Regions from separate parts of the Homo sapiens genome. Here region 1 is linked to region 2. The links are contacts of gene promoters, found by promoter capture Hi-C in human tissues and cell types (Jung and others, 2019). All regions are on one chromosome and are shown on one strand. The core of a region is centred on a gene start or on the middle of the fragment in contact, and the rest is flanking DNA. Distances in the headings are between cores, read along the strand shown.

The links. Contacts are between HindIII fragments. The study calls those that stand out against the background at their distance.
Region 1: a contact is called between a fragment that was not itself captured here and the fragment with the promoter of MRPL4 in region 2, in 1 of the 25 tissues and cell types used here (pancreas).

The regions. Positions count from the first base shown.
Region 1 is chr19:9,120,828-9,125,199 of GRCh38, forward strand. It overlaps the pseudogene OR7G15P. Among named protein-coding and RNA genes, the nearest start is that of OR7G3, 3.9 kb to the right of the region's middle. The HindIII fragment of the contact is 3,758 bases long and covers 1-3,472 here.
Region 2 is chr19:10,248,829-10,253,662 of GRCh38, forward strand. It overlaps MRPL4 (mitochondrial ribosomal protein L4), which reads left to right and starts at 3,386. Exons shown (of 9, transcript NM_015956.3): 1 at 3,386-3,482; 2 at 3,569-3,635; 3 at 3,723-3,873. The coding sequence starts at 3,426. RefSeq lists a silencer at 1,322-1,371 and enhancers at 2,741-3,314, 2,769-2,918, 3,049-3,458, 3,315-3,888. The HindIII fragment of the contact is 13,002 bases long and covers 1-4,834 here.

The DNA of each region.
Region 1 (4,372 bases), core at 344-2,843, 1.1 Mb before region 2:
GATGTGAGCCTTTGGTTGTAGCTATTTTTTGATAAATTTTCTCTGTTTTTTTCTTGGTTGTTACTGGCACTACTATTACATGAATATTTATGATTATGTCACACTAAAATATGTCTTTGAACCAGAAATTAATAAAAGTTTTCTCATCTTATTGCTTTATCACATTGAAAGTCACAAAAATTAGTTTTATTTCTATTTCTGGTTCTCCAGCCTGGGCAACACAGCAAGATTGTGTCTCTAAAACCAAAATAAAGAAAAAATTGAAATGTTCAGAGACTCAGAAAGGGAAAAGTCATGAGGCAAGTGTTCAGATACCACCTTGGGGAAAGTTTGCTGACTCTGTGGAAAGTGAGCAGGAAATGAAGTAGCGTTAAGGGTAGAATGTGTTGTCCCAGGGTTGATAAGAAATGTGGTGGTGGTCGGCCTGGTGACTCAGGCCTGTAATCCCAGCACGTTGGGAGGCCGAGGCGGGAGAATCTCTTGATCCCAGGAGTTCGAGATCACCCTGGCCAACATGGCGAAACCCCGTCTCTACTAAAAATAGAAAAAAATTAGCTGGGCGTGGTGATGCTTGCCTGTAATCCTTGTTACTCCGGAGACTGAAGCATGAGAATTGCTTGAACCTAGGAGGCGGAGGCTACAGTGAGCCGAGACTGCACCACTGCACTCCAGCCTGGGTGACAGAACAGACTCTGTCTCAAAAAAAAAAAAAAAAGAAAGAAAGAAAAAGAAAAAGAAAAAGAGAAAAACTGAGCTTGGAGAATGGAACTAATTTTTTTTTATTATTTATTTTTAATTTTTATTTATTTATTTATTTATTTTGAGACGGAGTCTCGCTCTGTCGCCCAGGCTGGAGTGCAGTGCGGCATCTCAGGTCACTGCAAGCTCCGCCTCCTGGGTTCACGCCATTCACCCGCTTCAGCCTCCCAAGTAGCTGGGACTACGGGTGCCCGCCACCACGCCCGGCTAATTTTTTGTATTCTTATTCGAGACGGGGTTTCACCGTGTTAGCCAGGATGGTCTCGATCTCCTGACCTCGTGATCCTCCCGCCTCGGCCTCCCAAAGTGCTGGGATTACAGACGTGAGCCACCGCGCCCGGCCGTGGAACTCGTTTTCGTACAATCACAGAGCTACACACAAAGAACAAGTGATGTTTCAACCCCAAGTTAAAATGTACTTACCCACTATGTTATCTAATCATTTTAGAAAACTCAGTGATAGATCAGTCAGGCATTCTGGCTCACCAGTATTTCTGTGTCTTTGACCCACTTTGAATCCCAAGTCCAAAGTGGACAACATAATCAGGAAGAGAAGTTATCCTACCAATGAGTTTCCCCGAGGCTCTCTTCATATCTCTGTTCCTCAGGCTGTAGATAAAGGGGTTCATAATAGGTGTGACCACTGTGTACATCACTGAAGCCACCGCAGCCCTCCTTGAAGAGTCAGAAACGGCAGAGCTAATGTACACCCCCCAACCCGCCCTGTAGAATCGGGAAACAAATGGGAGGTGAGACTCACAGCTGAAAAAAGCTTTATTACTTGCTGACGGCATTCTCAAAACAGACAAGGCTATTTGAGAATAAGAAAACATGACCCCAGAGAGAAGAATATCACCAAATATGCAAGTTGCAAAATAGACCAGAAAGTTATTTTTATTTATTTATTTTTATTGTTTTTTTTTTTTTTTTTTTGAGTCGGAGTCTCCCTCTGTCACCCAAGCTGGAGTGCAGTGGCATGATCTCGGCTCACTGCAACCTCCGCCTCCCAGGTTCAAGTGATTCTCCTGCCTCAGCCTCCTGAGTAGCTGGGACTACAAGCAAGCGTCACCACACCCGGATAATTTTTGTATTTTTAGTAGAGACAGTGTTTCACCATGTTGGGCAGGCTGGTCTTGAACTCCTAACCTCGTGATCCACCCGCCTCGGCCTCCCAAAGTGCTGGGATTACAGGCATCAGCCACCGTGCCTGACTGCAGTAGCCATTATTTTATTCTGATTTTATGAGATCAGCTCTTTTGGATTCTACACATGGTTGAGATCATGCAGTATTTGTCTTTCTGTACCTGGCTTATTTCACTTAGCATAATGTTCTCCAGGTTCCTCCATGTTGTGGCGAATGACAGAATTTCCTTCTTTTTAAAGGGTGCATAGTACTCTATCATATACCACATTTTCTTTTTCTTTTCCAGACAAAGTCTCACTCTGTTGCCCAGGCTAGAGTGCAGTGGTGCGATCTCGGCTCACTGCAACCTCCGCCTCCTGGGTTCAAGTGATTCTCCTGCCTCAGCCTCCTGAGTAGCTGGGATTACAGGCATACGTCATCATGCCTGGCTAATTTTTGTATTTTTAGTGGAGACACGGTTTCACCATGTTGGCCAGGCTAGTCTTGAACTCCTGACCTCAAGTAATCTACCTACCTCAGGCTCCCAAAGTGCTGGGATTACAGGCGTGAGCCACCGTGCCTGCCATACCACATTTTCTTTATCCACTTATATGTTGATGGACATTCAGGTTGATTACATTTCCTGGCTATTGTGACTAATACTGCAATGAACATGAGAGTGCAGATATCTCTTCAGCATATTGATTTCAATTCCTTTGAAATTCAACAGCACAAACATAAATCAATATAACTATAGATAGTCAACCTAAATAACAGAAAGAGGCTATCTAAAAGAAAATGATGTTTATTGCCAAAGAAAGCATTGCAATAGCGATACGCGTGCCATCATAAACTATGTATGCATTCAAGGAGGTAAAGGAAGACAAAGTTTTTTAATGGAAAAATGAGGAAGGTTACATAATTGTTTTGAAATAATTATCCTTCACAGTAATAACTAATAACAAGGGTGATGCCAGTCTGAAGCTGGACAGGCAGTTGCTGGGCAGATGTACTTGCAGAAATATTTTTTGTGTAAGGTTGCAACAGCCTTTTGTGCAAGGTTGTGGTTTTTGTCGTCTCGTGATAGTTTTTGTCGTCTCGTGATAGTTTTTGTAGTCTTGTGATAGTTTTTGTTATTAGGCATGCAAGTGAAATAAATCTCTTCATGGCCTTCCCTAGCTTTACTTGTCAGGATGTTTTTGTTTTTTTCATTTTTGTTTGTTTGTTTGTTTTTCATGAGATGGAGTCTTGCTCTGTCGCCCAGGCTGGAATGCAGTGGTGCGATCTTGGCTCACTGCAACCTCCGCCTCCCAGGTTCAAGCGATTCTCATGCCTCAGCCTCCTGAGTAGCTGGGATTACAGATATGCGCCACAACGTCTGGCTAATTTTTGTATTTTTCATAGAGATGGGGTTTCACCATGTTGGCCAGGCTGGTCTCGAACTCCTGACCTTGTGATCCGCCCACTTCAGCCTATCAAAGTGCAGACTTTTTTGATAGCCGCTACACCCAGCCTTTTTTTTTTTTAATAAGTGACTCCATTTTGATTCTGACAATTTTAACAATATATATACCAAGTACAGTCAGCCTTCCATATCTGCCAGTACCACATTCATGGACTCAACCAACTGTGGATCAAAAATATTAAAAATATTAAAGAAAATTTTAAAAATATTAAATAAGAATATTACAAAAATACAATATTAAGTAATACAACTATTTACATAGGATTAACATTATGCTAGGTAATATAAGTAATCTAGAAATGATTTAAAGTATAGGCGACCTGGGCACAGTGGCTCACACTGCTTAATCCCAGCACTTTGGAAGGCTGAGGCAGAAGGATTGTTTGAGGCCAGGAGTTTGAGGCTGCAGTGAGTTATAATCACACCACTGTAGTTCAACCTCGGCAACAGAGCAAGGCTCTCTCTAAAAAAGAAATTAATCATTTAATATTAAAATTAAAAATTAATTACTTGATTTTTAAATTGTAAATAAATTACTTAATTTTTAAATTAAAAATAAATTAGCTAGCTGGGCATGGTGGCTCATGCCTGTAATCCCAGCACTTTGGGAGGCTGAGGCGGGCAGATTACCTGAGGTCAGGAGTTCAAGGCCCGCCTGGCCAACATGGTGAAACTCTGTCTCTACTAAAAATACAAAAATGAGCCAGGCACAGTAGCAGGCGCCTGTAATCCCAGCTATTCAGGAGGCTGAGGCAGGAGAATCGCTTGAGCCCCAGAGGTGGAGGTTGCAGTAAGCCGAAATTGAGCCACTGCACTCTAGACTGGGCGACAGAGCAAGACTCTGTCTCAATAAATAAATAAATAAATAAATAAATAAATAAGTTTTTAAATTTTTAATTAAATTTAATTTTTTTTAAAAAAAGACTTAGTATTGGATAGACCAGTAGGGTGACTATAGTTCAAAATAATCCATTGTATATTTCAAAATACCTAGAAGAGAACAATTGGAATGGTTGGAGCATAAA
Region 2 (4,834 bases), core at 2,136-4,635:
GTCTCAAAAACAACAGCAACAAAATAAACGATTAAAAGACCTTTTAAAGTTGCAAAATACATAGAGTCTTAAACATGCATCCACAGTTATTTATTTATTTATTTAGAAACGGAGTTTCACTCTTGTTGCCCAGGCTGGAGTGCAATGGTGCGGTATCAGCTCACTGCAACCTCCGCCTCCCAAGTTAAAGGAATTCTGCCTCAGCCTTCCAAGTAGCTGGAATTACAGGCATGCGCCACCATGCTCGGCTAATTTTGTATTTTTAGTAAAGATGGGGTTTTGGCATATTGGCCAGGATGGTTTCGAACCCCTGACCTCAGGTGATCCACCCGCCTCGGACTCCCAAAGTGCTAGGATTATAGGCATGAGCCACCACGCCCGGCCGCATTCAGTTATTCTTGCAGGGATAAAATACACAATGAAATACACTATACTTTTTGTTTTCTTTCTTTCTTTTTTTTTTTTTTTTTTGAGACAGAGTCTCACTCGTCGCATGGGCTGGAGTGCGGTGCGGGATCTCGGCTCACTGCAACCTCTGCCTCCTGGGTTGAAGCGATTCTCCTGCGTCAGCCTCCCGAGTAGCTGGGATTACAGGTGCCCGCCACTACGCCCAGCTAATTTTTTTGTATTTTTAGTAGAGATAAGGTTTCACCATGTTGGCCAGGCTGGTCTCGAACTCCTGACTCGTGATTCGCCCACCTTGGCCTCCCAAAGTGCTGGGATTACAGGCGTGAGCCACCGCACCCGGCCACATTTTTTTTTTTTTTTTTTTGAGACAGGATCTTAGTCTGTCACCCAGGCTGGAGTACAGTGGCATGAACATGGCTCACTGCAGCCTCAATCTCTTGGGTTCAGGTGATCCTTCTGCCTTAGCCTCCCCATTAGCTGGGACCACAGGCATATACCATCACACCTAGCTAATTTTTAAATTTTTGGTAGAGGCCAGGCGCGGTGGCTCACGCCTGTAATCCCAGCACTTTGGGAGGCCGAGTCGGGTGGATCACCTGAGGTCGGGAGTTCGAGACCAGCCTGGCCAAAATGGTGAAACCCTGTCTCTACTAAAAATAAAAAATAAAAATAAAAATTAGCTGGGCGTAGTGGCGGGCGCCTGTAATCCCAGCTACTCGGGAGGCTGAGGCAGGAGAATCGCTTGAACCCAGGAGGCAGAGGTTGCAGTGAGCCAAGATCGCGCTACTGCACTCCAGCCTGGGCAACAGAGTGAGATTCTGTCTCAAAAAAAAAATAATAATAATGCTATTTATTGACTTTACACCTTGTACCAGGCATGGGAAGCTTTGCCTCCATTACGTCACTGAATCTCATAACCTCCTTTTCCAGCAGAGGAAAATGAGGTTGGTTCACAGACCACGTTGTCAGCTGTGCTCTGTCCAGAACGCACTGGCCTCCAAGTAGACAGCCCTGGACTGGTAGGGAAGCCGGCTATGATCCGGTGGCGCCCCCTGGAGGTCTATCGGGAACATGGTAAAGAACCTAAAAATGGGTGGGCCACAGTAGCTCATGCCTGTAATCCCAGCACTTTGGGGGACCAATGCGGGAGAATTGCTTGAGCCCAGGAGTTCAAGACCAGCCTGGGCAACATTGGGAGACCCACCCCCCGCCATCTCTACAAAAAAAAAATTAGGCCGGGCGCGGTGGCTCAGGCCTGTAATCCCAGCACTTTGGGAGGCCGAGGCGGGTGGATCACCTGAGGTCAGGAGTTCAAGACCAGCCTGGCCAACGTGGTGCCACACTGTCTCTAATAAAAACACGAAAATTAGGGCCGGGCTCGGTGGCTCACGCCTGTAATCCCAGCACTTTGGGAAGCCGAGGCGGGCGGATCACGAGGTCAGGAGATTGAGACCATCCTGGCTAACACGGTGAAACCCCCTCTCTACTAAAAATACAAAAAGTTAGCCAGGTGTGGTGGCGGGCGCCTGTAGTCCCAGCTACTCGGTAAGCTGAGGCAGGGAATCGCTTGAACCCGGGAGGCCGAGATGTGCGATCTCACACCACTGCACTCCGGCCTGGGCGACAGAGCGATACTCCATCTCAAAATACAAATACAAAATAAAAAAATACAATACAAAAATGAGCCGGGCTTGCGTACCTGTAGACCAGCTACTCAGGAGACAGAGGCAGGAGAATCCCTTGAGCTCTGGAGGTCGAGGCTGCAGTAAGCCATGATCTTGCCCATTGCACTCCAGCCTGGGCGACAGAGGAAGACCTTGTCTCTAAAAACCAAAACAAAGAAACTAAAAATAAGCATTCGGATTTGTTAGGGGGCGACAAGGGAGGCACTCCAGGATCTGTGGACTCCCCACTTTGTTCTGTCCTTGGAGAGCCCTGGAAGGTCTGAGAGGGGACGGGACCTGGTTTAAGGGGGTAGGGGAGAGGACCCTGGTCTAGGGGGTAAGGGACACAAATACCTAATCTGAGGGGTTTCGGGGGGACATGGCCCTGCCCTGGGGAATCTAAACTGGGAGGCATGGTCTGGCAGGCCCAATCCTGAAGGCTTTCTGAGGGCAATAAGGCCCTGCCTTTAAACAAATGAAAAAACGCCAGGCACGGTGGCTCACGCCTGTAATCCCAGCACTTTGGAAGGCTGAGGCGGGAGGATCACGAGGTCAGGAGATCGAGACCATCCTGGCTAACGCGGTGATACCCGTCTCTACTAAAAATACAAAAAATTAGCCAGGCGTGGTGGCGGGCGCCTGCAGTCCCAGCTACTCGGGAGGCTGAGGCAGGAGAATGGCGTGAACCCAGGAGGCGGAGCTTGCAGTGAGCCGAGATCGCGCCACTGCACTCCAGCCTGGGCAACAGAGCAAGACTCCGTCTCAAAAAAAACAAAAACAAAAACAAAAACAAAAACAAAAAAACAAATAAAAAAACAAAACCACATAACTGGATAAAGAAAAAACCATCTCCGACAGCCTTGGAGGCGGGATGAAGGCGTGGCCCGGTGGGCGTGACCAACAGCAAAAGTTTAAGCGTTATTGGCTGTATTCCTTAGTTGCTCACTCCAGAACTGCCCACTTATGGGCGGGGGTCACTCCTTCAGGCTTAACAGTCATTGGCTGAATTGGGCCAGAGAGGTCTCATTGGCTGAATTCCTGCACCGGCTCGTCGGAGGCGGGACCCAAAGTAGGCTAGGCCTACGGAAGCTGGGTCTTCTTGCTGTGAGGTCGCGTTCCCCAGTGTTACGGAGGGTCCTTGAGGCAGGAGTGAAAATTGGGTCTGGGGGTTAGTCCTGGGGTGGAGGTCTGGGCACGCCGGGTCGGACCCCCTCCATCTTCGGTTTTGCACACCCCGCTTTCCAGCGCGGAGTCGCGGCGGGTAGGGCGGCGTCGCGTGCGTGACGTCATCCAGCGGCGCCTCGCGAGGCTCCAGTGGCCTTGACCTCCCGCGGCGTGGGAGGCTGCGCGGCGATGCTGCAGTTCGTCCGGGCCGGGGCGCGGGCCTGGCTTCGGCCTACCGGCAGCCAGGTGAGGCCAGGGGCTGGAGGCGTGGTCGAAGGATGAAATTTGGGGGTGTCCAGGGGTCGTCTCTCACTTTCGCCCAACCCTTGCAGGGCCTGAGTTCCCTGGCGGAAGAGGCAGCGCGTGCGACCGAGAACCCGGAGCAGGTGGCGAGCGAGGGTAAGGCAACCGGGGTGGCTCCAGGAGGGGCGGCGACAGAGAGGTCTGACCCTTGACCCTAACCTCTGACCCCCGCAATCGCTCCAGGTCTCCCGGAGCCCGTGCTGCGCAAAGTCGAGCTCCCGGTACCCACTCATCGACGCCCAGTGCAGGCCTGGGTCGAGTCCTTGCGGGGCTTCGAGCAGGAGCGCGTGGGCCTGGCCGACCTGCACCCCGATGTTTTCGCCACCGCGCCCAGGTGAGCGAGGGCTGTAATGGTGAACTGAGTGGCAGAGGGATGAAGAGCGGGATTTCAGGAGTCACGATGACTTTGGGCTTGTACCCTTGGGAAAGTGCTGTATTTCTACAGCCTCCGTTTCTCCACCTGTCAAAGGGGAATGATGACAGTTTCCCCTGCTGTAGCGCTGTGTGAGATTGAAGCCTGAGAGGTGACATCATCTAAGGGTTAGGGAGACAGAATTCTGGAGCCCGACTGATTAGGTTCAAATCCTGCCTTCCCCTCTTGTCCCTCAGTGTCCCTATTTTGTCAGCGGTCGGGAGGTTGCTGTGATGAATAAATGACTTAATTCTGGCACATAATAAGTTCTATAGAAATGTTGATAATCTTTGTTAACTGGTTTTTGCAAATAAGAGCACTAAAAAGACTAAACCATTCCTCGGTGCCTGGAAGAGGCTGTTTGCATTTTAGTTACCCTGCTGTTCATAACATCTCTAAGAAAATGTAGGGGCCACCCTGGGCGCAGTGGCTCACGCCTGTAATCCCAGCACTTTGGGAGGCCAAGGCGGGCGGATCACGAGGTCAGGAGATCGAGACCATCCTGGCTAACATGGTGAAACCCCGTCTCTACTAAAAATACAAAAAAAAATTAGCCGGGCGTGGTGGCGGGCGTCTGTAGTCCCAGGTACTCTGGAGGCTGAGGCAAGAGAATGGCGTGAACCCGGGAGGCGGAGCTTGCAGTGAGCCGAGATCGCGCCACTGCACTCCATCCTGGGCAACACTCTGTCTCAAAAAAAAAAAAAAAAAAGAAAGAAAAGAAAATGTAGGGGCCAGTTACTGTGGCTCACATCTGTAATCCCAGCACATTGGGAGGCCGAGGTGGGCGGATCACTTGAAACCAGGAGTTGCAGACCAGCCTGGCCAACATGATGAAACCCCGTCTCTACCAAAAATACAAAAATTAGCCGGACGTCTTAGTGCA